Regions from separate parts of the Homo sapiens genome. Here region 1 is linked to region 2. The links are contacts of gene promoters, found by promoter capture Hi-C in human tissues and cell types (Jung and others, 2019). All regions are on one chromosome and are shown on one strand. The core of a region is centred on a gene start or on the middle of the fragment in contact, and the rest is flanking DNA. Distances in the headings are between cores, read along the strand shown.

Evidence for each region. The method cuts DNA at HindIII sites, captures the fragments that hold promoters and counts their contacts. A contact is called where the count stands out against the background at its distance.
Region 1: a fragment that was not itself captured here is called in contact with the fragment with the promoter of MLANA in region 2 in 1 of the 25 tissues and cell types used here (lymphoblastoid cells).

The regions. Positions count from the first base shown.
Region 1 is chr9:5,931,428-5,935,530 of GRCh38, forward strand. All of the region lies in intron 5 of BRD10 (bromodomain containing 10), which reads right to left. Among named protein-coding and RNA genes, the nearest start is that of MLANA, 43 kb to the left of the region's middle. The HindIII fragment of the contact is 3,336 bases long and covers 902-4,103 here.
Region 2 is chr9:5,888,056-5,892,575 of GRCh38, forward strand. It overlaps MLANA (melan-A), which reads left to right and starts at 2,834. Exons shown (of 5, transcript NM_005511.2): 1 at 2,834-2,881; 2 at 4,395-4,496. The coding sequence starts at 4,420. It overlaps LOC124902341 (small nucleolar RNA U13), which reads left to right and starts at 2,095; the gene lies at 2,095-2,201. It also overlaps a transcript of BRD10 not described here. The HindIII fragment of the contact is 14,558 bases long and covers 1-4,520 here.

The DNA.
Region 1 (4,103 bases), core at 1,320-3,819, 43 kb after region 2:
TAATCTTAGAAATTTAATCCCACATGGAGAAATATACTACTGAACTAGAAGACTGTATATAAGGAAGGAAGCTTAAATATTATGATCAGAGAACAGACTTCTTTCATACAACTTACCCACTAATCTGTTTTGAAATGTCTGTTATCTTTTAACATTATATGTTTTGTGGCCTTCTTCTCTTTCTTTATGTATTTTCAGTCTGGGGTAGTGGTGGTATAGTACTTCATTCATAATTTGAAAATGCTTATTAAATCATTCTATATTTCGAAAACAAACCCAAAAGTTTATTATTTTCACAACACAAATTATAGAAAAGACTGATAAAATGCTTTGTCTAGCAGATACATATGAATATAATGACCACAACAAAGGGCACCCCTATACCCTGCCATGGAGAATGTGAGTCAAGTTTTTATGTTGCTCAAAAGCATGCAGAGGTTTAAAAAAGTTGAAAATTAACTGTTCTGGGATTGCTATTTGAGGTAAGGTGCTTTAATTACTTAGAGTAAAAGGGAAACTCACACTGCCTGTTTTATGTATCATCTGCTTTGGTCAAAACATGGTGCTTATAACCCCAATCAAATTAAAATAATGACACTGTCCCTTTCTACTTAGTAGTGTTCTCAGAGTTGCATGGTATACAATGAAATTAATGTAAAGAGAAGAAAAGTTATATAAAAGAAATGAGATGATAATCTGCCTTATCTTGGGTCTAATATAAAAATCTACATAAAAATCAAGCAAATATTTATTGAACTTTAAATTAGGTCATTAACTAAAAGCTACTAATAGCTTTTCTGATTGATCAACTTTATTCATATACACGGACAAGGGAAAAACAAAGAACAATGATCATGTTTCATCTCGGATGAAATTATTAAAGTTGAAAGGAAACTAAAAGGGCATTTATTTTCTAGAAGAAAATGGTCTAAAGTTATACAGGGAAGTACAGTTGACCCTAGGTATCCAACCACAGATATAAAATAATTTGGAAGAAAAAAAATGAATGGTTGTGTCTACACTAAACACATACAGACTTTTCTTTCTTGTCATTATTCCCTAGACAATATAGTATAACCAGTATTTAAATCACATTTACATTGTAGTAGATATTATAAGTAATACAGAGATGATTTAAAGTCTACAGGAGGATGTGTGTAGGTTATACATAAAGACTACACCATTTTATATAAGGCACTCGAACATACATGGATTTTGGTATGAAGGTGGGGTCCTGGAACCAATCTCCCAAGGATACTGAGACACAACTGTATTTGCCGACAGAAGCAGCCATTAGACTAGAATTCTACACTCTAAATACTAACGTCTAATCTCCTTCCACTATACAATGCTGTATTTCTTGGACCCCACAAAGACAATTCCTAAAGAAGACATAGATTATCTTGTGTAAGTACCTATATTTACATGTAGGTATCTCTGTATTATAAGAATTAAAATCTCTAAGACTTATTTTAACTTTTAAAATTACAATAATAATTAAAATAATAATGACCTAAAGTTAAGAGTGAATTAAAAGCAAAACAGCAAGTTCTTCTGTCTTCAAACACAAAGACAGAATGTGGATGTAATAAAAATCAGAAAGGTTCTTAAGACTCTTTCTCTATACTGATTAATACACAAACAAAGATAAAAATGGCAGATAGATAATTTAGTAAAAGATCATTTGTGGAGCAGTGCTATGACTTTCTCTAATAAAAATATATTTAATAAGCTTTATGCATCTAATTTTAGTTCTGACTCTCCTTTATAAACAAGTATGTGAACACAGGGATAAATTAACTGTTTCCATGTTAGAATTTTCACTATTTTCATAGGCAAACAATACTGAGAGAATCTCAATGCATTACATGAATTTCATAATTCAAATATTTACTGAAGGTCACTTTATAAAGGGACAAGCAGTATTTTTCTTTTATGAATCAACAAAAGTATGAATTTCAAGTGTACATTATGGAACCAAAGACATACAATATAATTTAAATTTGAAGCTTACCTTTCATGCTTTCTCATCCAATGTCCACGGCAGCTGCAGATTGCCAGCTCCCTTTCCATAAGATGGCCCAACTACCAAACACTGGAGGTTTTATAACCCCATAGGGATTGCTACAACAAGGAACTGGTCTATGGTCACAAGATTAAGTCCTTCATTATATCATGCAGTTTTATAAGTCTTTGAATGTAACAGATTAATAACTTAAGGAATCATAAAGGAAAATAAAAAATAACTTACAAAACTACACAATATTGTAAAAAGAAAAGCTGCATCTCTATGTATGTGAAATGAGTCGGGAGGGAAACTTACCTCACAACTAAAGAACAACTGCATTCTGCTACAGTAATCTGGGATGGGTATGACAGCACCAGCATAACACTGGCTGGAGTGTGGCAAGGAGAGGGAGTTGGCAATCTACTGATGCTGGGGACATTGGATACCTAAAAAGGAAAAAAAGAGGGACATAAATAAATTCTATATTAAATGTCTCATAACAACAAATATATTTTGCACACTTTAATTTAGATACTTTGTACATTAAACTTAGGTGAAAGTCACTTGTTTATACAAGCCATACAGTTACTTACATAGATTTTTCTTGTAATATTATATCTAAACAAAACAGGTATCGGCAGTCATATGAAGAAAAAATTAAAATCATATAAAAATATACAAAGAATGCTTTTTAAAATGGAGATGGTATTATTGTGGAGATAACATTTTTATTTAAAAGAACAGTACAAAACATATACAACAAAAGTATGAATGCTTTTTTCCTATATGCTTTTATTTACAAATATGTTGTTAGATCACAGACACATGAAGCACAGAACATTTTTTGTTACAAGTTTAATTCTTGTCACAGACATAAATTCTGTGGTAGAGAAGGTATTAAATATCAATATATTACGCTTTTCTTTTTTTTTTTTTTTTTGGAGACAGGGTCTTGCTCTGTTGCCCAGGCTGGAGTGCAGAGGTACGATGTCGGCTCATGGCAACCTCCACCTCCTGGGTTCAAGCAATTCTCCTGCCTCAGTCTCCCTAGTAGCTAGAATTACAGATGCCTGCCACCACGCCCAACTAATTTTAAATTTTTGTTTTTTCAGTAGAGATGAGGCTTCACCATATTGACCAGGCTGGTCTTGAACTTCTGACCTCAAGTGATCCACCTGCCTTGGCCTCCTGAAGTAGTGGGATTACAGACACGAGCCACTGCGCCCGGCCATATTATGTTTTTTAATTAAAACACAAATACCTTTTAGAAAAGCTAAATGGATCCCTACAAAAAGAAGTCTTATTTAAGGGTCTCGTGCTCTACTGACTGAGTTAGCTGGGCACTAAAAGATGTCTCATTTAAAATCACTAACTATATCCAAAGGTATAATCTAAACTCACATGTATAAAAACAGTATATAATAAACTGTAACTAAGTATTTTAATAAACTAATTATTTGACATTCTCCTTAGTCTAAGTACTATTACATGAAAAGGTAATACTATATTCAATAAGTATTCACCTATTTTTCTTACTGCTTACCTACAGAAACTACCACCATACTAACATATTCCTGCATATTCACAGTTTTGGGGGTAAAACATCATGTTAATCATGTTGGTACACAGTCCCTGAAAAAGTGCTATTTTGACAGTATAATACATATAAATATGAAAAAAGTTAAAAAGTACTTTAACACTGACAGAAGCTCTAACATGAACTATTATATATGCTATTATTTTCTCTTGATACTCTTACCAATTTTTACTTAAGACTAGGAGAAAAGGAACGCGTTTGTACTTTAAAGGCATCCCACACTGAATACATTGAATAGTATATCCAACATTTCCATTATATTTCTAAATTAGCATTTAAATAGAAAGCATGAAGGCAAACTACAACAATAACAATAATGATAACATTTCAAGTTTCTCTGTCTTCCAGCTTTGTAGCGGGGGAAAAACTGGGTGACAGGTCACATTCCTGGTAAGGTAGTTCACTATCACCGGGGAAGAAAATCTAACAATATACATTTAAGAGACAATGTGCTACCATTTTCATTTACAAAGAATGAACCGTGGACTAGAAATTAAC
Region 2 (4,520 bases), core at 1,584-4,083:
AGGATCTGAAAGGAATGGGTCCTCAGGTATTATGGGAAAGGGGACCTTAGAGGTCATTTAATCTAAGTCTTGAGCTGCTAGGACTGTCATATTCCGGTGGGGTTTTTTTTCTTTGTTTTGTTTGTTCACAATGGCTATGGAGAGCTGGTGAGCAAAGGTGACTGTTGTGTCCCACTGAAATGCTTCTGGGCTGTCCAAGATAGATCATGATGTTAAGTAGAATCAGCTCTGGGGTCAATTATTAGGTGAGTGCAAAAGTAACTGTGATTTTTGCACTGTCGGACTTTGCTGTTTGATATTAAATACATTCTTAAATAAATGTGGTTATGTTATACATCATTTTAATGGGCATTTCTCACTTTATGTATTTTTGCTAAAGACATCACTTGTTCTTTGTTGTATGTTTATTTTAGACTATGGAAATGTTGGACAAAAAGCAAATTCAAGTGATTTTCTTATTCGAGTTCAAAATGAGTTATAAAGCAGCAGAGACAATTTGCAACATCGACAATGCATTTGGCCCTGGAACTGCTAACGAATGTACAGGGCAGTGGTGGTTCAAGAAGTTTTGCAAAGGAGATGAGAGCCTGGAAGATGAGGAGCTGGCCACTGGAAGTTGACAACGACCAGTTGAGAACAATCATCGAAGCTGATCCTCTTTCAACTACACTAGAAATTGCCGAAGAACTCAACGTCGATCATTCTACAGTTGTTCAGCATTTGAAGCAAATTGGAAATGTGAAAAAGCTCATTTAGTGGTTGCTTCATGAGCTGAGTGAAAATTTAAAAAACGGTCTTTTTGAAATGTTGTCTTATCTTATTCTACACAACAACAAGGAAGAATTTCTCAATTGAGTTGTGATGTACAATGAAAAGTGGATTTTATATGATAACTGGCAATGACCAGCTCAGTGGCTGGTCTGAGAAGAAGCTCCAAAGCACTTCCCAAAGCCAAACTTGCACCGAAAAAAGGTCATGGTCACTGTTTGGTGGTCTCTGCTGGTCTGATCCACTACATCTTTCTGAATCCCGGTGAAACCATTATATCTGAGAAGTATGCTCAGCAAATCAATGAGTTGCACCGAATAGTACAACACCTGCAGCTGGCATTAATCAACAGAAAAAGCCCAATTGTCCATGACAGCACCTAACCACATGTCACACAACCAATGCTTCAAAAGTTGGAATAAATTGGGCTACGAACTTTTGCCTCATCTGCCATATTCACCTGACCTCTCATCAACCGACTACCACTTCTTCAATCATCTTAACAACTTTTTGCAGGGAAAATCCTTCCACAACCAGCAGGATGCAGAAAATGCTTTCCAAGAGTTCATCGAATCTTGAAGCATGAATGTGTATGCTACAGGAATAAACAAACTTATTTTTCATTGGCAAAAATGTCTTCATTGCAATGGTTCCTATTTTGATTAATAAAGATGTGTTTGAGGCTGGGCGCGGTGGCTCATGCCTGTAATCCCAGCACTTTGGGAGGCTGAGGCAGGTGGATCATGAGGTCAGGAGATCGAGACCATCCTGGCCAACATGGTGAAACCCTGTCTCTACTAAAAATACAAAAATTTGCCAGGTGTGGTGGCGTGCACCTGTAGTCCCAGCTACTCAGGAGGCTGAGGCAGGAGAATTGCTTGAACCTGGGAGGCAGAGGTTGTAGTGAGCTGAGATCCTGCCACTGCACTCCAGCCTGGGCGACAGAGTGAGTCTCCATCTCAGAAAAAAAAAATGTGTTTGAGCCTAGTTATAATGATTTAAAATTCATGGTCCGACACCGCAATTACTTTTGCACCAACCTAATTGATGTCTAAGTAGGTCATATTCTACCTGCAAAAAGAAAATTTCATCTATCCCTTTCACATAGATGGAAACCCACTATCTCCAGTGGACAGTTAACACCAAAGGCATCACAGAGAACTCATGGAGCTCAGCTGAGGAGGTTTCAGGGATTTTTCTATTTCCTTTTCTTGATTATGAGAGTCTGGGACTAGATGCTCTCCAGACCTGTGCCTAAAGACTCTTCAACCCTTTGAGATGGAGATGAGGGAGGGAATAGGGAACCCAGTTTAGTTTGGATTTCAGATCCTTTTGTGGGTCATAAGCGTGATGATTGGGTTTCCATGTTCACGTGTGAGATATGCCTCCCTCAAACCTTGTTACAATGACATGGGCACCTTACCTATCTGACATGAGAAAAACAAATGTGGATTTCAGATAAACAAAAAATAACTCTTTTAGTGTATATGTCCCATAGAATATGTGGACATATTTATCCTAAAAATATTGTATGGGACATAGTTGTATTAAGAAACTGTTCATTGTTTATCTGAAGTTCAAATTTAACTGGGCATCCTCCTCAGCTGAGCTCCATGAGTTCTCTGTGATGCCTTTGGTGTTAACTGTCCACTGGAGATAGTGGGTTTCCATCTATGTGAAAGGGATAGATGAAATTTTCTTTTTGCAGGTAGAATATGACCTACTTAGACATCAATTAGGTTGGTGCAAAAGTAATTGTGGTGTCGGACCATGAATTTTAAATCATTATAACTAGGCTCATGTCATATTTTATGTGACATGGCAATCCTATGGAGGAGGGACCAACATTTAAAATAAATGGCTTCCCTAGGATAGAGCACTGGGACTGGGGAAAACAGAGGCCACAGTCAGCTGTGACTTTTTGAAGGAAGGAATAAAGTTGGTTTCTTTCATGCCAATTTAGCAATTACAGACGACCCCGTCAGAAATCTAAACCCGTGACTATCATGGGACTCAAAACCAGGAAAAAAAATAAGTCAAAACGATTAAGAGCCAGAGAAGCAGTCTTCATACACGCGGCCAGCCAGCAGACAGAGGACTCTCATTAAGGAAGGTAAGAGCGTTGCCTTCTCGCCATAATCATAGTCCTCTTCTCCCAGAATAGGATTTGGGAAATTCTGGCTAAGTCCTCTGCCTACCCTCATTGCCCCGCTGATGTGTGACATCAACAGAATTTCTCCGCAACGTTTGTCAGTCTCCAACCTCAGAGGGCTCACAAAGCCTCCTCCTGAATCCTCTCTCAGTCCTCCAACACTACCAAGAAGAAAAGCAATTATTCAGGATGGCATCTTGCTGGGGAGAAGCAGCCTCCCTGAGGTAGATGTGTTCTCCTGTCACTTAAAGAACCACTTCTCCTGGTCTGAGTAGTAAGAGGCGCATTTGCTGTTGCTGCACCATTTGCCAAGGCTCTGAGTTTGAGGTATGGGATGTATTAAAACAATTTAATGAAGAATTAAGATTCCATTCTGTCATTTTGAACACAGGGTTCAGTCCTATATTATTCACTTGAGAGGACTGGTGAGTTTGACTTTCATTTCTTTTTTACAACTGGGAAGGGCAAATTACACATAAAATGTCCCAGTGGAAAGGGGTCATGTGTCGAAATCCCCACTCTTCTGTCTCACCTCTCCCTGTTGTTTTAAACTGGGGCTCATTAATATAATTCTATGGGGATCACACCTTTGAAATTCATGAGGACAGTAAGAGAGCAGAAAAATACACAATAATAAGGAAAGGAGCTTCCATTATTGGTTTTTAATGAGCGTACTTGAATTACGGCCACTGCAGTTTATGGATATTTTTTGTTGTTCATTTGTATGTGTTATAGTTAGAAAAAAAAAGAATCCTAGCCAAGGGACTTGAACCAGAGAGAAGCAGAAATTGACTTAAGTAGGAAGGGAAACACATTGTTAGATAAAGTCAGGTCCTGGGCTTCCTCGGCTTGTTTTGGGTGGAGTGCCTGGGGACAGGCTGAAGCCCCTGTGTGGGGTGGTTTCCTTTGCTGAAAAGCTGGGCTGGAAGATGTTGTGCTCAGTGCTCAACCTCATGCACCCTCGCGAGGCACAGGCAACGGGTGCTCTGGGAAACACACGTTATGTATCATAGCCTCTGTTTGTCTGTGGGATTGATATCCAACAATAACTTTGGAGAAAAATAACTCCTCTAATTTTGTTAGCCACAGCCCTGGGCCAGGGAAGGTGGAGAATCAGTGAAAATGCATTTTGTTTGTTTCTCTAGAAGTTTATGGTGCAGAGTCAAATTGAAGGCAAATGAGGAATATTTTTTCACCAAATAATAACTCAACTTGCAAGTCTTTTTTGCTTTTGTTTGTAGTTTCTTCTTTGAACTTAATTTTCAGTTAGTAGGAGGGGTTAGAAACCTGAGCTATTGCTAAAGCCCTTGATATGAATGAAAGAAGCAGGTGCAAATCCCCTCACAGAGAGAAACCAAAGGGTCCTGGCTATGGATATTGGTCACCTAGTGAGGATGCTGTTGTGGGTCTTTATGAGATGATGAATAGGGTGGCTTTGGATGCATTAATGATGCCCACATGCTCCTTCTGTTAGGTGTCCTGTGCCCTGACCCTACAAGATGCCAAGAGAAGATGCTCACTTCATCTATGGTTACCCCAAGAAGGGGCACGGCCACTCTTACACCACGGCTGAAGAGTAAGTTCAAAACCAGACCCAGCA